Linked DNA regions of Homo sapiens: region 1 is linked to region 2. The links are contacts of gene promoters, found by promoter capture Hi-C in blood cells and fetal thymus (Javierre and others, 2016). All regions are on one chromosome and are shown on one strand. Each heading gives the region's core, a stretch centred on a gene start or on the middle of the fragment in contact. The rest is flanking DNA. Distances are from core to core; before and after follow the strand shown.

Region 1 (3,269 bases), core at 447-2,946, 500 kb before region 2:
AAAGAGAGAACTGCTAATGCTCAATAACAACAACAACAAAAAGGAACAGCCCAATTCAAAAATGGGCAAAGGACTTGGACAGATATTTCTCCAAAGAAGATATACAAATGACCAATAAGCACATGAAAACATGTTCAATATCACTAATCATTAGGAAAAAGCAAATGAAAACTACAATGAAATACCATCCCATACCCATTATTAGGATGACTACCATCAAAAAAACCCAGAAAATAACAATGTAGGTGAGGATGGGAGAAATCGGTACCTTGCTGCTGGAAATGTACAATGGTGCAGTCACTGTAGAAACAGTATGGTGATTCCTGAAAAAGTTAAAAATAGAACTACCCTCTGATTCAGCAATTCCATTTCTAGGTATATACATTGAAAATAATTCAAAGCAGGGTGTCAAGGAGATATTTATATTTCATGTTCATAACAGCATTATTCACAATTGCCAAAAGGTGGAAGCAACCTAGTTTACAGAAACAGATGAATGGGTAAACCAAATGTGACATATCCATACAATGGAGTATTATTCTGCCTTTAAAAAGAAGGAAATTCTAACATATGGAAAGATATGAATGAATCTTGAGGACATTATGCCAAATGAAATAAACCGTTCACAAAAAGAAAAATGCCGTGTGATTCCACTTCTAAGAGATACTTAGCTTAGTCAAAATCACACACAGAATACAGAATGCTAGTTCCCTGGGGCGAGGAGGAGGGGCTATGGGGAGTTACTATGTAACGGGCATCGAGTTTCTGTTTTACAAGGTGAACAGAGTTAAGGAGCTGGATGGGGGTGACGGCTGCACCATAGTGTGAATGTATTTGATACCACTGAACTGCACACTTAAAATGGTTAAGATGATACATTTTGTTGTGCTTTATCACAATAAAATAACTGAAACAAACCGGAACATGGGTGTTGGCAAGGATGTCGGGGAACGAGCACCCTTCTGTATTGCTGGTGGTGAAATCGAACCGCCGCTGCGGAAAACCGTTCTGCGGTTTCACAAACAGTTCACACCCTAAGGCCCAGCTATTCATGCCTAGGTATACACCAAAGATAAATGGAAACAGGCACCCAAATACTTGTACGAAAATGTTCATCGTGTCACTGGACGCAAAAGGCAAAAAGTGGAAACAACCCACTGTCCATCAACAGAGGAAGAGAGAAACGTGTGGGCTCCATCCACGGAATATTATTCACTCCTGAAAAGGAACGCGGGTCTGATCCCCGCTCCACCGGGGACGAACCTTGAAGACGCGATTCTAAGCGAAAGACGCCGGAACACAAAAGGCCACAGCACGTAGGGCTCCATTGAACGGAGGTCAGAACAGGCTGGTCCGCGGAGCAGGGCGGGGGCTGCAGGGCCCTGGAGGGGCGCGGAGAGCGGCCGCCGACGGGCGGGCTCTGCTCGGGTAGAAGCTGTTCCGGAGCCCGAGAAGGTGCTGGTCCCGCAACACTGTTGGGGGGGCCCCGCTGAGCTGAGCCTTGCGACCCGGTTTATGTGACGTGAGTTCCACCTCAATCTAAGTGTGAGGAAGCGAACAGCGTTCTGAAACGCAGAAACGTGCCCATTCGAATTGTTAACGCGAGCGCAGAGCCCACTGACAAAGCAAAATAAGACAAACCGGGAGTCAGAAAACTCAGCGACCCACAGGATCCACCGTGATGTTTCCCACAAATGTTACCGCGAAAACAGTCGGACTTGAAAATAAACGCGACCTACCTGGTTCTCGGAAGGGGAGAAGGATCCGGGCGAAAGGCGTCAGTTCTCCCTCGCTCGCCCCGTAGACGCAGCGCAGGCCCCGAGCTCCCGAGCGGCGGTTTCAGAACCCGCGGGTCACCCGGGAGCTCCTCCCGCAGTACCAGCCGAAAGCTCCCAGCGCCGAGGAGGGCGGGCGGCTGCCCTCCCCGACCTCGCCCCGCCCGCGCGGACGCCCCCGGCCCCACGCGGGGACCACCCCGGGACGCCGGCCGGAGCCCGCGCGCCCCCGGGCAACCTGAGTGCACCTGCGCCGCGAGGGCACCTGAGCGCTCCCGGCCACGCCCCTGCCACGCCCCCGGCCCCCACGTGCCGCCCTCACGGGGCCCCGCCCCCTCGCGGTTCGGCCGCAAGCCCCGCCTCTCAACCTTCCCGCCCCTCAACCTCCCCGCCCTATGCCCCAGATCGGGCCCCGCCCCTTTACGCCTTAGGCCCCGCCCTCACACCGCCCGCCCCCACACCCCGCCTCCACTGGACTCAGGCTCCGCCCCTTAATGCCTCGCCCCAAAGCCCCGCCCCAGGAGCCCGCCCTGGTCCAGGCCCCGCCCCGTCCCGAGCGCAGCCTGCGACCGATGGAGCAGGAGGCGCGGGTGCTGAGAGCTGCGGGCGGCTTTGGCCGGGCCCGGCGCCTGCTGGCCTCCGCCTCGTGGGTACCCTGCATAGTGCTGGGGCTGGTGCTGAGCTCCGAGGAGCTGCTTACCGCGCAGCCCGCGCCCCACTGCCGACCGGACCCCACGCTGTTGCCCCCAGCGCTGCGCGCCCTGCGCGGACCCGCGCTGCTGGACGCCGCCATCCCGCGCCTGGGGCCCACGCGAGCCGCGAGCCCCTGCCTGCTCCTGCGCTACCCCGATCCCGCGCCCTGCACCCGCCCCGGGCCCGCGCCCCGCGCCCGCACGCAACGGCACCCGGCCCTGCACACGCGGCTGGCTCTACGCGCTGCCCGGCGCCGGCCTCCTGCAAAGCCCGGTCACCCAGGTGCGCCCCCGTCCCTGCTGCCCCGCAGCCCTCCCCGCCCCCAGCCCGCCGAGGCCCTGGGTGTCCTTTCTCCATCCTACCTGGCGCCTCTGACCCGGGCCCCCCGGCCGTCCTCCTGGGCTTCCTGCTCCGGGGCGGCCGCCGGCCCGACGGTGCCGCAGACGGGCGCGCACGGGCCGGACCCGCGGAGAGGGGCCGGGCGGGGGCTGAATCTGGGCCTGGGAGCTGCCAGGCGCGGGGCGGCCTGGGGCGCTGGAGGATTGGAGCCGAAGGCGCCGGTGGGGGAGCAGGGCCTGGAATTTGCTTCAGGACCACCAGCGTCTTCAGCAGACCGTGGCTTTGGGCTGGCTTTCCAAGGCAGAGTCTCTGCTTGGAGGGACTGACGTGGTCAGCACAGACTGGGGAAGGTGGGCTTCCCATCAGTGAGGTGCGCAGAGGCTGGGCTAGAGACTGCATTGCCTGAAGGGAAACCTTGACGATCTGCGTGAGAAGAGATGGGGAGGCGGGCGGCAGGGACCT
Region 2 (3,147 bases), core at 63-2,562:
CTAGTGGAAACAACTGAACAATACAATGGCTACAAGCCAAGAAAGACATGACAAGCGCCTGGGGGAAAGCTAGAGGTCTTCCAAGCCTCTATCCTGCCACAGATGAAACAAGCATCTCACACGAGATTAAAAACTTTCACCCAGACCATCTGCCAAGTTCCCAAGATGCTCTGATCCGCCCCTAGATGTATTCCAGCTGCCCCCAAACGCCTGGTCCTCCTACAGCTTATCCCAGTCTAGACACCACGGCCCCACTTCCAACTGTCCCCATAAGTTCCATCAGAAACCTCATCAGGGGATCTGTGGCTAGCTCATGGGAAACTTTCCCAAGCAGGAAACCAATGCTTTCGCCTCCACTTCAACACCAGGGGCACGAGGGACCCCATCAGGAGCAGGAATAAAGTAAGTACATGTTTTTAAAAAGAATTAACAAAGCATCACAAGTTGCGGCTATCCTGTCTGCTAGCGAGGCCATGTTTGCCAGGGTCTCAGCCACCTCCAGGCCTCACCTGCAGAAGGCATCTCCGGCTCGTATCACCACAACGGGCTGCGCTTCCTTGCACTTCACACACTTCTGCTCACGGCTTTGGAGATGGGAGGGGGGAGAAGAGAGAAACACAGATCACATCTTCCCCACGCCTAGTGGGCTTTGGGGAGACAGCTCCTGTTTCTCACCCTGAGTTGGGTCAGAGAAAGGCACCTCGGTACACACACAAACCCAGGCTTGTGTTCTGTCCAAACTTCAAGAAAAACAAAGGCTCTGGGGGGATGTTTAGCCTAGAAAAGCCGGCTCAGGGGGCACATAAAGGCCGCTTTTCAGTCTCCCAAGGCTGACACGGGGAGGCGAGACAGCTTCACGGCACCAGTTCTCTCCGAATAAGGACAGCACTGTCAGCGGCAGAGCCGTCCCCAGTGGCTGCTAGGATGAGAGGCGCGAGCCAGTGGAGTAAGTCCCCTTCTAGGTGGCCGTCACCGCTTGACAGGCATTCCCCGAGTGCTAGGGAGCGAGGTCCCGCTCTCCACGCGGGGCTTCCCGGAGCAAGCCCGGCCGGGACCCTTCGGGGCAGGAGTGCGGCGGGAAGGCGAGGGGCGGCCTGGCGGGTCCGGCCGCCAGCTCTTACCTGGGCCGCGGCGCCGGGGGCGGCTCCTCAGGCGCCGGCTCCCCGTAGTCCTCGCCCACCTGACACATGGGCACGCCGGGTCCCGTCGCAGACTGTGGCGGCGACAGCGCGAGGGCGCGCCCCGATGACGTCGGAGTGGCGCCGTGACGGCCGCGAAGCCCGGCTGGGGGCGGCGCCCTACGATGACGTCAGCGCGGCGCAGTAGCGGCTGTGACTAGCGGGCCGGCCCGGGCCAGGACAGCGGGCGGCGGGCGGCGCGGGCCTGGCCCCGGGATGGCTATGTTCCGCAGCCTGGTGGCCTCGGCTCAGCAGCGGCAGCCGCCGGCCGGGCCGGCGGGCGGCGACAGCGGCCTGGAGGCGCAGTACACCTGCCCCATCTGCCTGGAGGTCTATCACCGGCCCGTGGCCATCGGCAGCTGCGGCCACACGTGAGCGCGCCCGCCCAGGGGCCGCGGGGAGGGGGCCGTGCCCCGCCGCGGGAGGGGTCGCGAGGCCGGCGGCCGCCCCGGTGCAGCTCCGGACTGGGCGCGCGGGGACTCGGGGCGCCGGGGCCTCGGGGCGCGTGGGGTCCGGGTTTCCCTGTGCCGCGCCGCCTCTGCCCTCTGGGCGCGTTCATCCCCCGCCCAGCCTCCTTCGCGCCAGCCGCAGGCGCCCGGTCCGACTGCTGCTTCGGTTCACCGGGCGACCTGCGGCCCTGCCCAAGCTCGGGGTCCCCGGCGGCTGCGGCGGGCGCTCCGGTACTCAGAGGGCAGCAGGTGCCACCGCTCCGCCAGTGGTGGTGGATTTGGGCTTGTGCGGCTGGAATGGGCAGTTGTAAATAAATAACTTGTAGTTTTTGCTATCAACTCTTGTTCGGACCCGCTGTCTGCCTGTTTTGACTACAGAGGAAAGGAGTTCCCTAAAGTTTAGAGGGGCTTGTTTGGAGTCTGATGTTCTTAGTTTTGTTTGAAGGAGAACTTGAGTCACACCGATCACTGAGTAGCCAGGCAGGCTGGTCCACAGAGGAGCAGACACTGACCACCTTGCTGGGGTTTCCAGCTGCACCAGGGCTCACAGCCGGCTCCTCCAGGGTGTTTCAGGAACAGAAACTGGAGGACGTGGCTCTCCTGGCGGGGAGCTGTGCTCAAGTATTCTGGAGCTGCCAGCCCCGTTGGGAGGAAGCCTAGATCAGTGTCTGCTCCCTCCTAAGTGCTGAATAATACAGCTCTTGAGCAAAATCAGCAGTGGCAGGGGAGAGAGAGAGCAGGAGGGCTTCCCCGCAGACATCCAAGCTGCTGAGGTGGTGGAGTGGAGGGGGGTGCACCCAGACTGGTAGGAGGCTCTAGAACATTTTGCAAGCAAAGTCAGCTGACTTCAGGGGCTCCTGGTACAGAGGGAGCTGGGACTGCTAGGTGGATGTGTGCTGGTCACCCACGGAGGTGGCAGGGCCAGTGTCAGGATGCAGAGCTGCCTTCATTACCTGTGTCAGGCAGCACAGGCGCCTGCCCACGCTGGGACAGCTCTACCTACTTCTCTTGTGAGGCTGCTACAGGCTCTGCCCCTGCTCCTCCATCTCACTTAGCCGTGACATTTTGGGGGGGCAGCCTCTGAACGGGAATATTTTTTTTTGAGACAGAGTCTTGCTCTTGTCACCCAGCCTGGAGTGCAGTGGCGCCATCTCGGCTCACCGCAACCTCCATCTCCTGGGTTCAAGTGATCCTCCTGCCTCAGCCTCCAGAGTAGCTGGGATTACAGGCACCCGCCACCACGCCCGGCTAATTGCTGTATTTTTAGTAGACAAGGGGTTTCACCATGTTGGCCAGGCTGGTCTCGAACTCCTGACCTCCGGTGACCTGCCCGTCTCAGCCTCCCAAAGTGCTGGGATGACAGGCGTGAGCCACCGCGCCTGGCAGGACTTCCTTCTTGTGAGCAGGTAGCGGGTGTTTGAAGGTGTGTTCCGCACCTTCTCATCTGTTACTGAGCGCTGTGAGGCTTGACTTAGGCCTTGTTTTAGAAAAGCCTCCCGTAGGCTTTGGGTGCCAACACC

The links. Contacts are between HindIII fragments. The CHiCAGO score rates a contact against its expected background, and 5 or more counts as called.
Region 1: a fragment that was not itself captured here is called in contact with the fragment with the promoter of RNF166 in region 2 in 1 of 17 cell types (non-activated CD4 T cells); the score reaches 5.4 in non-activated CD4 T cells.

Annotation. Positions count from the first base shown.
Region 1 is chr16:89,200,743-89,204,011 of GRCh38, reverse strand. It overlaps a transcript of SLC22A31 not described here. Among named protein-coding and RNA genes, the nearest start is that of SLC22A31, 1.8 kb to the right of the region's middle. RefSeq lists a silencer at 2,319-2,408 and an enhancer at 2,701-3,269. The HindIII fragment of the contact is 3,791 bases long and covers 1-3,269 here.
Region 2 is chr16:88,704,573-88,707,719 of GRCh38, reverse strand. RNF166 (ring finger protein 166) reads left to right here and starts at 1,312. Exons shown (of 6, transcript NM_178841.4): 1 at 1,312-1,549. The coding sequence starts at 1,395. CTU2 (cytosolic thiouridylase subunit 2) reads right to left here and starts at 1,217. Exons shown (of 15, transcript NM_001012759.3): 1 at 1,122-1,217; 2 at 510-584. The coding sequence starts at 1,189. RefSeq lists silencers at 949-1,258, 1,299-1,578 and an enhancer at 1,200-1,837. The HindIII fragment of the contact is 28,082 bases long and covers 1-3,147 here.